Regions from separate parts of the Homo sapiens genome. Here region 1 is linked to region 2. The links are contacts of gene promoters, found by promoter capture Hi-C in blood cells and fetal thymus (Javierre and others, 2016). All regions are on one chromosome and are shown on one strand. The core of a region is centred on a gene start or on the middle of the fragment in contact, and the rest is flanking DNA. Distances in the headings are between cores, read along the strand shown. Region 1 overlaps GMNN (geminin DNA replication inhibitor). Region 2 holds the start of ALDH5A1 (aldehyde dehydrogenase 5 family member A1).

Region 1 (7,228 bases), core at 2,696-5,195, 290 kb after region 2:
TTGGGGAAGTACCTGTTTATACTCTGAAATAATTTCAGTGCTTTTTAAAAAAAAAAGACAAATTATTAAACACTTTGACTTTGCTGACTATGATCTAGCATGGTAGAGACTTTGATATAATACTGTTTATAAATGAATTTATTGAGGGGCAAGATGAAAAAAATCTCATAGCTATATCAGTATGCTATACGGGTCAGCTATATCAGTATGCTGATCAGCTTAGGTTTTAACATTTTTACAATAAATTATTGGTTTATTCTTTAAAAGAGACTGAATGGTGAACCTCTGGATAATTTTGAATCACTGGATAATCAGGAATTTGATTCTGAAGAAGAAACTGTTGAGGATTCTCTAGTGGAAGACTCAGAAATTGGCACGTGTGCTGAAGGAACTGTATCTTCCTCTACGGATGCAAAGCCATGTATATGAAATGCATTAATATTTGACTGTTGAGAATTTTACTGCCGAAGTTTACCTCCACTAGTTCTTTGTAGCAGAGTACATAACTACATAATGCCAACTCTGGAATCAAATTTCCTTGTTTGAATCCTGGGACCCTATTGCATTAAAGTACAAATACTATGTATTTTTAATCTATGATGGTTTATGTGAATAGGATTTTCTCAGTTGTCAGCCATGACTTATGTTTATTACTAAATAAACTTCAAACTCCTGTTGAACATTGTGTATAACTTAGAATAATGAAATATAAGGAGTATGTGTAGAAAATTTGTCTGTTTCTATGCTTTTATGTTGTTCTCTTTCCATTCTTTTGCTAACTACCTTGGAGGAGACAAGGAGAAAACGAACTTAAAGTATTTAGACTGAGATAGCTGAGGTTTTTAACTCCCAAACTTTGTTGTACCTCAAGCTCATTGTAGACACTATTGATATTAACAAGTTGTTTTTGGAATGGAGCATGAGAATCTATTTTCCAAAAGCTTTTCAAGTGAATCTGATTAGACAGTGAGAGGCCCAACTGGCTAGCAGGATCAGACTCTTCTTGGAAGCTTAAAATGATGGATGATGGTGATAATCCTCAAGAAACAAAGTGAGGAGTGGGTAGAAGTTTGACGGAAAAAATCAGGAATAGCTGAAAATTATGGAGCTTTTCTATTTCACATATTGGTATAGTGCAAAGTATGTAAATATTGAAGAATAAGAGTAGGGTCAGATTCATTAGGGATTTCCCATATATACTAAGTTTTGAAGGAGGAAAAGTACAAACTAGGGGTATGTAGCATTGGAACTGAAAAAGTTCTGTGAGAGGCATACAAGTAGTTTTGTATAAATTGGCAATAAAGAGCAATGTCATGCTTTTATTTTTTTTCCTTTGAGACGGAGTCTTGCTCTTGTTGCCCAGGCTGGAGTGCAATGGCATGATCTTGGCTCACTGCAACCTCTGCCTCCCTGGTTCAAGTGATTCTGCCTCAGCCTCCTGAGTAGCTGCGATTACAGGTGCCTGCCACCACACCTGGCTAGTTTTTGTATTTTTAGTAGAGCCGGGGTTTCACCATGTTGGCCAGGCTGGTCTCGAACTCCTGACCCCAAGTGATCCGCCCACCTCAGCCTCCCAAAGTGCTGGGATGACAGGTGTGAGGCACCACGCCTGGCCTCAAGCTTTTGAAAGGATTGTTTTAGGTAAGCATCCTTATAGAACCTTAATTTTCTCTCTCTGTCACCCAGGCGGGAGTGCAGGGGTGCAATCTCAGCTCACTTCAGCCTCCACCTGATGGGCGCAAGTCATCTTCCCACTTCAGCCTCCCAAGTAGCTGAGACTACAGGTGCGTGCCACCACACCTGGCTAATTTTTTATATAGACGGGGTTTCGCCATGTTGCCCAGGCTGGTCTTGAATTCCTGGCATCAAGCGATCCGCCTGCTTCGGCCTCCAGAGTGTTGGGATTACAGGCGTGAGCCACCGTGCCTGGCCTTAATTTTCTTTAATACTGAGATAAAGCCTACCTCATAGTGTTATCGTGAAGATTAAAACCTTTAGTGTCTAGGCTAAGTGTCTTAAAAATGGAAGCTATTATTAATCTATAACAACATTGTCCAGTAGAACTTATTGGGATGATGAGAATATCTGCTGTACAGTATGGTAGCCATTTCTGTGTGGCTGTTTAGCACTTGAAGTGTGGCTAGTGTGAATGAGGTATGGACATTTTAATTTAAGTCACTACAAGAAGCTAGTGGCAATTACGTTAGTGTGGCTCTGTGTGTTTCAGGTGTGGATCACTAGCCTAAAGATAGGATTAATAGGTAAATTAATTTTAAAGGAATTGAAGAATATTCTGGATTAGAGCATGAGGAGACTCAGTTGAGAGGCCTTTAGCATGGTTAAGAAAGAAAATAGGTAAGTAGAATAGGGACTTGACAAATAGAAAGTATTTTTGTAAAATGCCAGAATTTGATGGTGGGGAGCAAAAGGAGAGGGAATTGAAGGGGATTAAAAAACTAAGGTAGTAGCTAAAACCATAAAACTTCTAGATTATATAGAAAAGTTCTTAGTGACTTTGGGTTTGGCAGAGAGTTCTCAAATAGGACACAAAAAAGCATCAACTTCAAATTAAACGTTGTAAATTTTAAAAACTTTTTGAAAGACAAGCAAATGAAAAGGCAAGAACAGACTGGGGGAACATATTTGCAGAACATAGCCAACAAAGGATTTGTATCTATAAAGAACTAGGGTATGTATGAGATGGAAACTAAGTGCATGAAAAGATGCTCAACATTAGTCATTAAGGAAGTGCAAATTAAATGACAACCAGATACTGCTACATACCTTTCAGAATTGTTTTAAGTTTGAAAAATAAAAACAACTCCATCGAGTGTTAAGGATGTGAAACATCTGAAACCCTCCTGCAGTGGTGGTGGCAGTGCTAAATGCTACAACTGCTGTGGAAAAGTTGAACAATTCCTTAAAAGTTATACATACACATTTTATATGACTCAGCCATTCCACCCCTGGGTATTTACCCAAGAGAAACGAAAGCATATGTCCACATGAAGACTAGTTCACACATTTTCATAGCTTTATTTGTAATAGCCCAAATATCCATTGGTAACTGAGTGGATAAATTATGGTATAACTATACAGTGGAATACTATTTAGCAATAAAAAGGGGACAAAAATTGGTACACGCCACATGGACGAATCTCAATGTTGTGTGAAAGAAGCCAGGTAAATACATACTGTATGCTTCTATTTATTTAAAATCACAAAACTACAAAGTATAATGAGAAAGCAGATTAGTAGTTGCCTAAGGGTCATGTAGGGGCTGTTTTGGGGGACATATTTTAAGCTTCTAGTCCCTGGGAACTGACCCTAGTGATGGAGAATTTGTAGGAATTTCCTGTGGAAGATGAGTCTGATTTTTAATTAGGTATCAAATGTTAGTATAGCATGTCAGCCGGGTGTGATGGCTACGCCTGTAATCCCTACACTTTGGGAGGCTGAGGCAGGCAGATCACTTGAGGACAGGAGTTCAACATCAGCCTGGCTAACATGGCAAAATGCTTTGTCTACTAAAAATACAAAAGATTAGTTGGGCGTGGTGGTGCACACCTGTAGTCACAGCTCTTCGGGAGGCTGAGGCACACAAGAATTGCTTGAATCTGGGAGGCAGAAGTTGCAGTGAGCATAGATTGCGCCACTGCACTCCAGCCTCGGCAACAGAGTGAGGCTCTGTCTCAACAAAACAAAAAACATGTCAATGAAAATACCTTGGAGAAGGGGTCAGGGAGTCAATCAAGCCTGGCCCATTAGAACAAGTTCTTTGAAGTTGGTTTAATAAAATGCAGTCGAGCTTCGTTAAGGAAATGGCAAATGGATAAGAATCAGTTGGAAAAACAGTATGCATGAAGCCTGGATTAGACTGAACTAATTTGTCAATATATTTTACAAGGCTAGCATAACTGATATCAAGATTTGAGGATGGACCAGCCAGGTGTGGTGGCTTATGCCTGTAATCCCAGCACTTTGGGAGGCCCAGGTGGGCAGATCACCTGAGGTCAGGAATTCAGGACCAGCCTGACAAACATGGTGAAAACCTGTCTACTAAAAATACAAAATTAGCCAGGCGTGATGGTGCATGCCTGTAGTCCCAGCTATTTGGGAAGCTGAGGCAGGAGAATTGCTTGAACCCAGGAGGTAGAGGATGCAGTGAGCCAAGGTCGCGTCTTTGCACTCCAGCCTGGGCAACGAGCGAAACCTCATCTCAAAAAAAAAAAAAAAAAAAAAAAAAAGAAGGTAATGAGGATGGACCGTAAGGTTGGAGTAGGGGAATCTAGAGCCTTATTAATACAGATTGAAAAATCATAAATAAAATGGCAAGTCTAATCTACTAAAAGATAAAACGATGACCAAGTTAGGGTTTATCTCAGGAATGCAAGACTGCTATAATATTAGTAAACATGAAGTTCTTTATATTAAAGGGGAAAAAGCATATCATCTTAATAGATGGTAAAATAGCATTGATAAAATTCAACACCCTTTCTGGTAAAAACCCTTGGTAAGCTAGGAAAAGAAAAGAATTTTAACCTGAAATAAACTATGCTACCCATGCTTAACATAATGCTTAATGGTGAAGCTTTGGAATTAGTTTCAAGGTCAAGAGCTAGAAAAGGATGGACCACAATTATTTCCAATTCTTTTGGAGGTGGATGCAATGAGACCAAATAAAGGATAATTATAGGAAGGGAAGAGAAAAGCTAATCCAAGAGCAGATAGAAATGAATTTTAAGACTACACCATGGGTAAGATATCTCCCCCAAATAAACTGACGTGTTATTAGAAGAAAGAATAAATTCTAGTGAGCCAAAACGCAACAAACGTCCACCACACTGCCTTACGGCCCTCGTAATTTTGGTTTGTTTAGAAAACTTCCTTGCCTATCCCACACCCTTCAAGATATTTCAGTTGACTTTTAGGTTGTAACTAATTAGGTTGTTAGGTCAACCAAGAAGGATAAGAATTGGTGTATACATATCTGAGCTCCTTGGGACCTCTGGATGAAATAATTCTTAAGGCATGTGTGTTGTGTGTTTACCAGATGGTTCCCCAGCAGGATTAAGCTTCCGTTTACCTACAGTGGCAGCTTTCTTCATAATACATCTTTTATTGGCTTTCTTCCCTTCCCTATTGCTAGTTCCCGAGATCACCTCCCAAATAATATCTTTCAAATCCTTAAGCAAATCCTCTGATTTGCTTCTAGCAAAACTCAAAAGTTGGGAGAGATGAACTTAGGAGGGACAGCAAAGGAAAACAAAATCACTGTTGTTAAAGCTTTGGTAAGCCAGCTTAAAATTCAAGGTTTACAGTAAAAATGCCTCAGCTCGAATCTGAACCTTGTATCTTACCTCCTTCAACTTAAAGAGGTTCCAGAGACCAAAAAGGAATTTGAATAGAACATATTATTAGACTACCTTATAAGCTAATCTTCTGTAGATAAAATGTTAACCAAAATTTCTGTAAACATTGTCACAGAGAGGCCTTCAGCAATTTCTGGTTAAACATGTTAATTGAACAGAGCCATTTAATTTCTGTCTTTCCCAAACATTATTAAAATGACAGTAAGCTGTAAAAAACATCATAATCCCGTGCTGACCAAGCAGAGTCAACAGAAGTTGAGGCAAAAGTCACAATGCAGGGAACAGAATAAAACAAAAGCAAACGATGTAAGTATGGCTAAGCAATTCCATTTCTAGAAATTTATTCAACAGATATGCTCACACATGTGAAATTACACATATTTAAGGTTATTCATTACAACTTTGAACTATCAAAATATTGGAAATAACTTAAATGTTCATCAGTATAGGACTGGTTGTATAAATTACAGTTCACCCTTGAACAAGGCAGCCATTAGGGAAGCCAACACCTGTGCAGTTGAAAATCTGCATATAAATTTTTCTTTTCTTTTTTTTTTTTTTTTTTTTGAGACAGTCTCAGCTCTGTCGCCCAGGCTGGAGTGCAGTGGCACCATCTCAGCTTACTGCAACCTCCGCCTCCTGGGTTCAAGAGATTCTCCTGCCTCAGCCTCCCGAGTACCTGTGACTACAGGCGCGTGCCACCACGCCTGGCTAATATAAATTTTCTTTGGCTATCTTCTGCTTTTAAAATTTAGATAATTTTTCTTTTTTCTTTTTTTTTCTTTTTTTGAGATGGAGTCTGGCTCTATCACCCAGGCTTGCGTGCAGTGGTGTGATCTTGGCTCACTGCAACCTCTGCTTCTGGCTTCCAGTGATTCTCCTGCCTCAGCCTCCCGAGTAGCTGGGATTACAGGCACACACCACCATGTTTGGCTAATTTTTGTATTTTTAGTAGAGATGGGGGTTTCACCATGTTGGCCAGGCTGGTCTCAAACTCCTGGACTCAGGTGATCTGCCCACCTCAGCCTCCCAAAGTGCCAGGATTGCAGGCGTGAGCCACCACACCTGACCTAGATAAATTCTCTGTTTTGAAATTGTTATTTGAGACGGTCTCACTCTGTCACCTGGAGTGCAGTGGCACAATTTTGGCTCACTACAACCTCTGCCTCCTGGGCTCAAGCGATCCTCCTGCCTCAGCCTCCCAAGTAGCTGGGACTATAGGCACACACCACCACACCTGGCTGATTTTTTTTGTAGAGATGTCTCACTATGTTGCCAAGACGGGTCTCGAACTCCTCGATTCAAGCAATCCTCCCATCTAGGCCTCCCAAAGTGTTAGGATTACAGGCATGAGCCCCACCCCACCCGGCTGAAATTAGTTTTTTATTTGAGGCAAGGTCTTATGTTTTTTAGGCTGGGCTCAAGTGATCCACCTGCTTCAGTCTTACAGGTAGCTGAGATTACAGGCATGCCACTATGCTCAGCCTTGCATATAATTTTTTACTCTCTCAAAACTTAATGATTAGCCTAATGTTGACTGGAAGCCTTGCTGATAATATAAACAGTTGATTAACACATATTTTGTATGTTATATGTATTATATCCTGTGTTGTTGTTTTTTTTGTTTTTTGTTTTTTGAGACGGAGTTTCGCTCTGTTTACCAGGCTGGAGTGCAGTGGTGCGATCCGCAACCTCCGCCTCCTGGGTTCAAGCGATTCTCCTGCCTCGGCCTCCTGAGTAGCTGGGACTACAGGCACACACCACCATGCCCGGCTAATTTTTGTATTTTTCGTAGAGATGGGGTTTCACTATGTTGGCCAGGATGGTCTCGATCTCCTGACCTCATGATCCACCCT
Region 2 (7,130 bases), core at 4,543-7,042:
TCCCATGACCAATGGGGCATCAGCTCTCTTTCTTATTTGCCCCTTAACTGAAGTCATGCTGCCAATCCCTATCCCTGGATGACTGCAATCACCGGCTTCTCCTCCCTGCTGTCAGGCCACTCAGCTCAGTGCCCAGGGGAAACTGTATCAATCCACGAGCGGGATTTTCAGTCTCTTCCTTAATGTCTTTGACAGATGTATTGTCCTCTCAACAACATAACAAGACACCAGTACTTACCTATTTCTACGTGTGTTGAAAGGCCACACGGTGAACCTCTATGGCAGAGAGAACCCAACATGATCAGCAGGCCAGGCCACAACCTGAAAGCAGACATGATCTCATTGCCCACCGGCTTCTCTGGTGACGTGGGAATGCTCAGAGCTGCAGCAGCACTGGGACTCCAAAATCCAGGTGCAGACCCACCGCTTCTCTCTAAGCAGGTCACTGACCGAGGAAACCAAGCCTCATTTCAAAATAATATCGTTTTCCAATGAAGTCAACTGTCCAACTACTGTTTAGCTTCACCAGAACAGCAAACAAACTCTGTGCTCCTGGGGGGTGGGGTTGGGAGGATAAACTGAAATCTGAAAAGCCTTAGGCCAGAAGCACTGCATCTTCTGACCGAGGTTTTTTCTGGATTTCATTTTAACATGAAATTTGTGTAGAGATGCAAGCAAAGTTGTCTCCAGATATTTTTTGCTTTCTATAAAAAGGCTCACCTGTGCAGATAGTCAACATATTAGACCACCTCACCTTACAAGGGTGGATCTCTCATGCATCCTTTCTACACATTTATCAGGCTGTCCTGCTTCCTCCGCCTCCCAAGCCACAAGTGCTGGGAAAGTTTTATGGTAATCAGCTGGAACTGGCTTCCTTTTCAGTATTTGGCAACAGATACTGACACTTGTATGGGATTACACAAGAGCAGCCACTCCTGGTCTCTCTACCTCTGGCTGTTCTAATAGGGCTTATCCAGAGCCTGTTGCAAGGTCAGATTCCTGCAGCTGAAGCAAAGATGTCAATTCCACTTGGGAGGTGGAAGGAAGGGGGCAGATTTAGGGCCAAGAAACAGGGTTTGGAAAATGTTAAGCTCACGATATATTATCAGGTACCCACTTACACTTCATCCATGGGAAAAATTAAGCTCTTCATGAAACTGATGGTAATCTTAAAACACAAATTATGCATATTTTACATTAAAAGCAAGAGATGGGCTCCTAAAAGAGTGGGAGGAAATAGTATTCACTTCAGGTTTGCCAAATGAAAGGATGAATAGAAAGTGGGATGATTTGGCTGGGCGTGGCGGCCCACACCTGTAATCCCAGCACTCTGGGAGGCTGAGGCTGGTGGATCACCTGAGGTCAGGAGTTTGAGACCAGCGTGATCAACATAGTGAAGACCCCGTCTCTACTAAAAATACAAAAATTAGCCAGGTGTGGTGGCACGTGACTGTAGTCCCAGCTACTGGGGAGGCTGAGGTGGGAGGATCTCTTGAACCCAGGAGGTGGAGATTGCGGTGAGCCGAGATTGCACCACTGCACTCTAGCCTGGGTGACAGAGCAAGACCCTGTCTCAAAAAAAAAAAAAGAAAAGAAAAAAAGAAAGTGGAATGATTTGACAACAGTTGTCGCCCCAACAGTTTCCCCTGTAAGCTTAACACAGCCATGTGCACAGCCCCAAGGAAAGAAATCCCGCAGCTACCCCCAGACCTGAGGGGCAGTAGGCCCAGCTACTCCTGATTAGTCCAGAGGCCATATGCCTACGTGTTTTGTTTGGCTAACAGGATGTTTTATAAACTTAAATCAAGTTTATGAACTTTTTCTAAATGAGAAAATTCACGTAGAAATCTAGATTTCTGGCTCTCTTAAAAACAAAAGAACTGGCATCATGAACTGACGCTCCCATGTGACACGACAACCAGCTGCAGCCAAAGAGCCAGCTGCCCCCTGATAGAGCATGTCCTGCTCCTCCAGTCCCCACCATCCATGCAATGTGTGCAGGTTTCCACACCCCTTCTGGCCACCAGAGGCCTTTGAGTTTGCCTCCCTGTCACTCTGGGCCTTCTACAGACTGTGCGTGAGGGAGTCACAATTATTAATTGGGACTTTGGATATTGTCTCTCAGAACATCCAAGAGCAGTCAATCAATGGTTACAGGGGAAAAAAATACTGCTAGAAAAGATATCTAACCATATATAATACAACAAACCCATCCAAAAAGCACCAAAGAAATGGGTTCAGAACAGGTGTGGTGGCTCACGCCTATAATCCCAGCACTTTAGGAGGCCAAGGCGGGCAGATGGCTTGAGGCCAGGAGTTCAAAACCAGCCTGTGCAACATGGCAAAATCCCGTCTCTACCAAGAAAAAAACAAAAACAAAAATTAGCCGGGCATGGTGGCATGCACTTATGGTCCAAGCTACTCAGGAGGCTGAGGCGGGAACATCGCCTGTACCTGGGAAGTGAAGGTTGCAGTGAGCTGAGATCACACCACTGCACTCCAGCCTGGGCAAGACCCCACCTCAAAAAAAAAAAAGGAATGGGTTCAGTTACCAAACAATACTAATCCCAAATGTCTCAATTTCTCATTATGCATTTTTTTGTATTTGAGATTCAGAATGACATAAACGTATAAATGTAATAAAATAAGAGGAAATTATTTGCTTAGTGTGATAGTTATGAATATGGTCTTTATATGACAATATTGCTTGCAGTTTTATGAAGTTTGTATTACTTTGGTAACAATAAAAACATCAAAGATATGACTTTAAAGAAAGTTAAAACGTAGCTCACAATATTACTATCTGACAAATAATAAGCATATGGAAATATTTTTCTTTCTGCCCCACACCCCCCTTTCCTAATATAGGTGGCTTTGTTATAAACAAGACAGCATGATTCTACCATTTAGAACTCTTCTGGAAATAGAGACCCAAGGTGAAAAGTAAACATACAGTTACATTAAGGAGTGAGTAGGGAGAATACAGGTTTGAAAGCCAGAGGGTCTCAAGCTTTATGTGGGCCAGTCTAGAAAATGGGGGAGAAGAGGCTGGGCACAGTGTCTCATGCCTGTAATCCCAGCACTTTGGGAGGCCGAGGTGGGCAGATCACCTGAGGTCAGGAGTTCAAGACCAGCCTGGCCAACATGGTGAAACCCCATCTCTACTAAACAATACAAAAATTAGCCAGGCATGGTGGCGCGCACCTGTACTCCCAGCTACTCTGGAGGCTGAGGCAGGAGAATCACTTGAACCCAGGAGGCAGACGTTGCAATGAGCTGAGATCGTGCCATTGCACTCCAGCCTGGGCGACAGAGTAAGACCCTGACTCAAAAAAAAAAAAAAAAAAAAAAGTGAAAGAAAAAAAAGAAAAAGAAAATGGGGGAGAGGATGAATAAGGGTGGGAACTGGGGAGTGGAGGTTCCCAGGACAAGGGCAGCCAAAGGAGAAAGGAGGGAAGAGGTCCCTCTCACCTGATGGTCTTGTCCTTGTAGGCCCTGGTAAGGACAGACACCCAGCCAGGCGCTAGGGGGCATCAGGACAGGCTGGAAGTAAGACAGGAGCCAGGAGGAAATTGTTTACACTCTGAATGGGGGCTTGAAGAGGGGCACAAAACTGAGGGAAAAGGGGAGGGCCACATTGTGAACTTTCTAAGCTCCAGGCGCTTTTGCCTTTGTGAAGTACTTCCTGTCACAAAAATAAGTAAACAATAAATAGAAATCACATTTTACATCTGCATTGGTGTAAGATTAACATATTAATATGCCACCTAAAACTTCTTTTCTTCAGATTTTAGAATAAATTAAACATTTGTGAGTGCTCCTAAAAGTTTTATGGGCCCTTGGCATCGTACCTACTGTGCGTAATGGATAAGTCATCTGGGAAAGGGAGTGGGTACCGTTTGAAATAGAACCTTAAAAAGGTAAGTGGGCTAGGGTAATTTTTGAACAAGAGAGGCAGCCACAATTAACTTGGCTTTTCTGGGCCTCAGTTGATTGAGGCCTCAATTGAATGATTTCCCCAGGCCAGTAGAAATGAGCCCTGTAATCCCAGCACTTTGGGAGGCCAAGGAGGGCGGATAACTTGAGGTCAGGCATTCAAGACCAGCCTGGCCAACACGGTGAAAACCTGTCTCTACTAAAAATACAAAAATTAGCTGGGCTTGGTGGCACACACCTGTAGCCCCATCTACTCGGGAGGCTGAGGCAGGAGAATCGCTTGAACCCGGGAGGCGGAAGTTGCAGGGAGCTGAAATCGCACCACTGCACTCCACCCTGGGTGACAGAATGAGTCTGTCGGTCTCACAAGAACAAAACAAACAAAAAACAAAAACCACCACCAAAAACAAAACAAAACAAAAACAAAAACTCCCTCCGCAGGCAGGAGATGTAAACACGCCAGCTCCCCAGCCCCACCTGTGATACCTACTGGCCCACATCCCTATTAGGACTCCCTGGTTCTCCCCAGTTCCTGCAATAAAATACAGAGCAAAATAGTGTGAAATTGATTAAACTCTACTGTTATCACTTCTGCCATATGTGACTGGCTCAAAACTCAATGGATCTGACTCAGCAAAAGACAAAGTCAAAATTTAAAGTTACTGCCTCGGCATTTTGCAAATGTCCTAGAAAAAAATTCAACGTCCTAGAAAAAGGTGAAAGCTAGCAAGATACTCTCAACGCTGTAGGAGTTGAGAAAGGGAGATATGTAACCTAAAATCAATGCATAGGGCTGGGCTTCATTTGCACCCACAAATTCCCAGCATACGCCTGCTATTTTTATTTTTATCCTCATTAGGTTTTAAGCTTCCCTGCTGCTTTCAGAGTCTTAAGCCCAAGTCTAATTTTTTAACGGATGAAGAATGCTGTTTAAAGGTGCTCAAATACCTTGGTTGGATAGTATGCTCAATCCTTATACCTTGGTTGATTCAATTTTGACAAATGCTTCCATTTACTAGTTGGTGACCCAACTTTAATCTTACTAGTGGCTTGACTAGGGTAGCTAGTATGACTTTGAACGCTATATTGAATTTAATGTGGCAACTGTAATGAGCATTTTACGTTATCTCACAACAAAATGGGGTAGATATGGTTCTATTTTATAAGTGACTGGACTAAGGTTAACCTGTCGGTCACACAGCTTGTCGGCAACAGACTTGAGTTTGGATCCTAGTCTGTTTATTTCCAAAGCGCTGTTATTTATCGGGAGCAACCCTAGGAGAATGCCTAGACACACACCCAAAAAAGCAGCCAGGCAGCAGAACGCGGGGTCACACTTCGACCCCTCAGAGAACGATCGCTCCCAATCAATACTACGTGCTCAGGAGCTACAACTGAAGAAGCGTGATCACGGCCTTGGCATTTAGGGCAGGCACCAGCGCATCTATGGACCGCGCACAAATTCCGGGGATGCCGAATTTGGGGGATGCTAAGGGGAGAGAGTGGGTCTCTAGCAGCGATTGGGGGCTCAGGAGCAGTTAGTGACAAATGAGCACCCGAAAAGTGAAAAGGTGACAGCAGTCCGCAGGTGCATCTACTGGCGAGCCTTCTCCATCCCCGAACCCAACCCTCCCCCGGGAGAAGGTCGCGCCAGGAGAGAAGCCGCGCGGCGCTTAGGGCAAGGTGCAGAGGGCGGCGCGGCGGTGCAGCGAGAAAGACGCGGAGAGAGGGCGCTGCTCTGTGGCTCTGCAACCTTCCGCCAGCTCCCACGCTTTCCCCGCGCGTCCCCGGCGCCTCCTCGCTCCTCTTGCTTCCCCGCGACCCCTGCGTTCCCGTGCGCGCGCGCCCGCTTGCCTGTTTCCTGTCGCCGTCGTTGCCCGGGCCATGGCGACCTGCATTTGGCTGCGGAGCTGTGGGGCCCGGCGCCTCGGGTCGACGTTTCCAGGCTGCCGCCTCCGCCCCCGCGCCGGCGGCCTGGTCCCTGCCTCCGGGCCTGCGCCCGGCCCGGCCCAGCTCCGCTGCTACGCTGGGCGCCTGGCGGGCCTCTCTGCGGCGCTGCTGCGCACCGACAGCTTCGTGGGCGGCCGCTGGCTCCCGGCCGCCGCCACCTTCCCCGTGCAAGACCCGGCCAGCGGCGCCGCTCTGGGCATGGTAGCCGACTGCGGGGTGCGAGAGGCCCGCGCCGCCGTGCGCGCTGCCTACGAGGCTTTCTGCCGCTGGAGGGAGGTCTCCGCCAAGGTGAGAGAGCCCGGATGCAGGGGGCCAGAGCTGGCCGGGGACACGGCGGGGAGCAGAGGGGGCTTTACCCCAAAGTGACACCAGCCGCGTCGCCTCCCTCCTGTGCTCAGTTCCCCAGGGTATACAAAGTGGAAAGTCAGAGCAACAAGGGAGACGACCGACAAATAAGTTTGGAGCTTCCACTTTGAGCCGGGCACTAGGGACACGACCCCTGCCCTCAAGCCTCATCAAGTTATGCACTGCCCAGTAGGGGAGGCAGAACGTGAGCGCCTAATACAAGCGAGCTGCTTGTTATGGTCAACAAGCCTAACCGTGGAGGGGCGGGGAGAAAGGGGAGGGGTGTCAGGGAAGTGAGAGCACGTGTGGCCCTTCAGAGTAGCTGAAATATCTCCGCAGCTGCAGGGAGCCCACGCAGGAGGCTGCTTCAGCGGCCCTTGAGAAGGCTGGTAGTGAGGGCCCCTGGCCAGAATCATGGGATCGGAAACGGAGAGAACTGTAGAAAGATTTGGGTTTTGTGCAGGGGAAGAGAGAAATCCAGGAGCGTTCTCCAGGTTTTCACCCTAAATGGATAAATGCTGCTATTGGCCATTGCATAGAGAACACTGGAGAATTGGGAGTAAGGGGTGGAGGGCCATTAAATGGGAAGAATAGAGTAAGAAGAAAACTAAGAAAGTAGTTTCTTCCTTCTAATATTATATTATTAAACCTGGAGTCAACGCAGTGAAATTTTTTACCGTGTCCTTCAAAGCTCTCCCTCTGAAGGAATGCATCCAGCGATCCCTACGAGTACAAGAGAGTCTTAGCACTCATTCATCCATCAGCTGTTTACTGAGCACCTGCTGTATGCCCTGCACTGTTGGAGGTGCTTGGGATACCTCAGTTAAACGAAAGAAGGATTCTGCCCTTATGGAGCTCACATGGGGTGGAAGGGGAGCAGAAGAGAGATCAGAACTCTA

The links. Contacts are between HindIII fragments. The CHiCAGO score rates a contact against its expected background, and 5 or more counts as called.
Region 1: a fragment that was not itself captured here is called in contact with the fragment with the promoter of ALDH5A1 in region 2 in 1 of 17 cell types (total B cells); the score reaches 5.1 in total B cells.

Annotation. Positions count from the first base shown.
Region 1 is chr6:24,785,371-24,792,598 of GRCh38, forward strand. GMNN (geminin DNA replication inhibitor) reads left to right here. Exons shown (of 7, transcript NM_015895.5): 7 at 268-729. The coding sequence ends at 429. Among named protein-coding and RNA genes, the nearest start is that of ARMH2, 9.9 kb to the right of the region's middle. The HindIII fragment of the contact is 1,287 bases long and covers 3,303-4,589 here.
Region 2 is chr6:24,489,177-24,496,306 of GRCh38, forward strand. ALDH5A1 (aldehyde dehydrogenase 5 family member A1) reads left to right here and starts at 5,793. Exons shown (of 10, transcript NM_001080.3): 1 at 5,793-6,174. The coding sequence starts at 5,821. GPLD1 (glycosylphosphatidylinositol specific phospholipase D1) reads right to left here and starts at 402. Exons shown (of 25, transcript NM_001503.4): 1 at 239-402. The coding sequence starts at 335. RefSeq lists a silencer at 5,799-6,188. The HindIII fragment of the contact is 3,166 bases long and covers 4,802-7,130 here.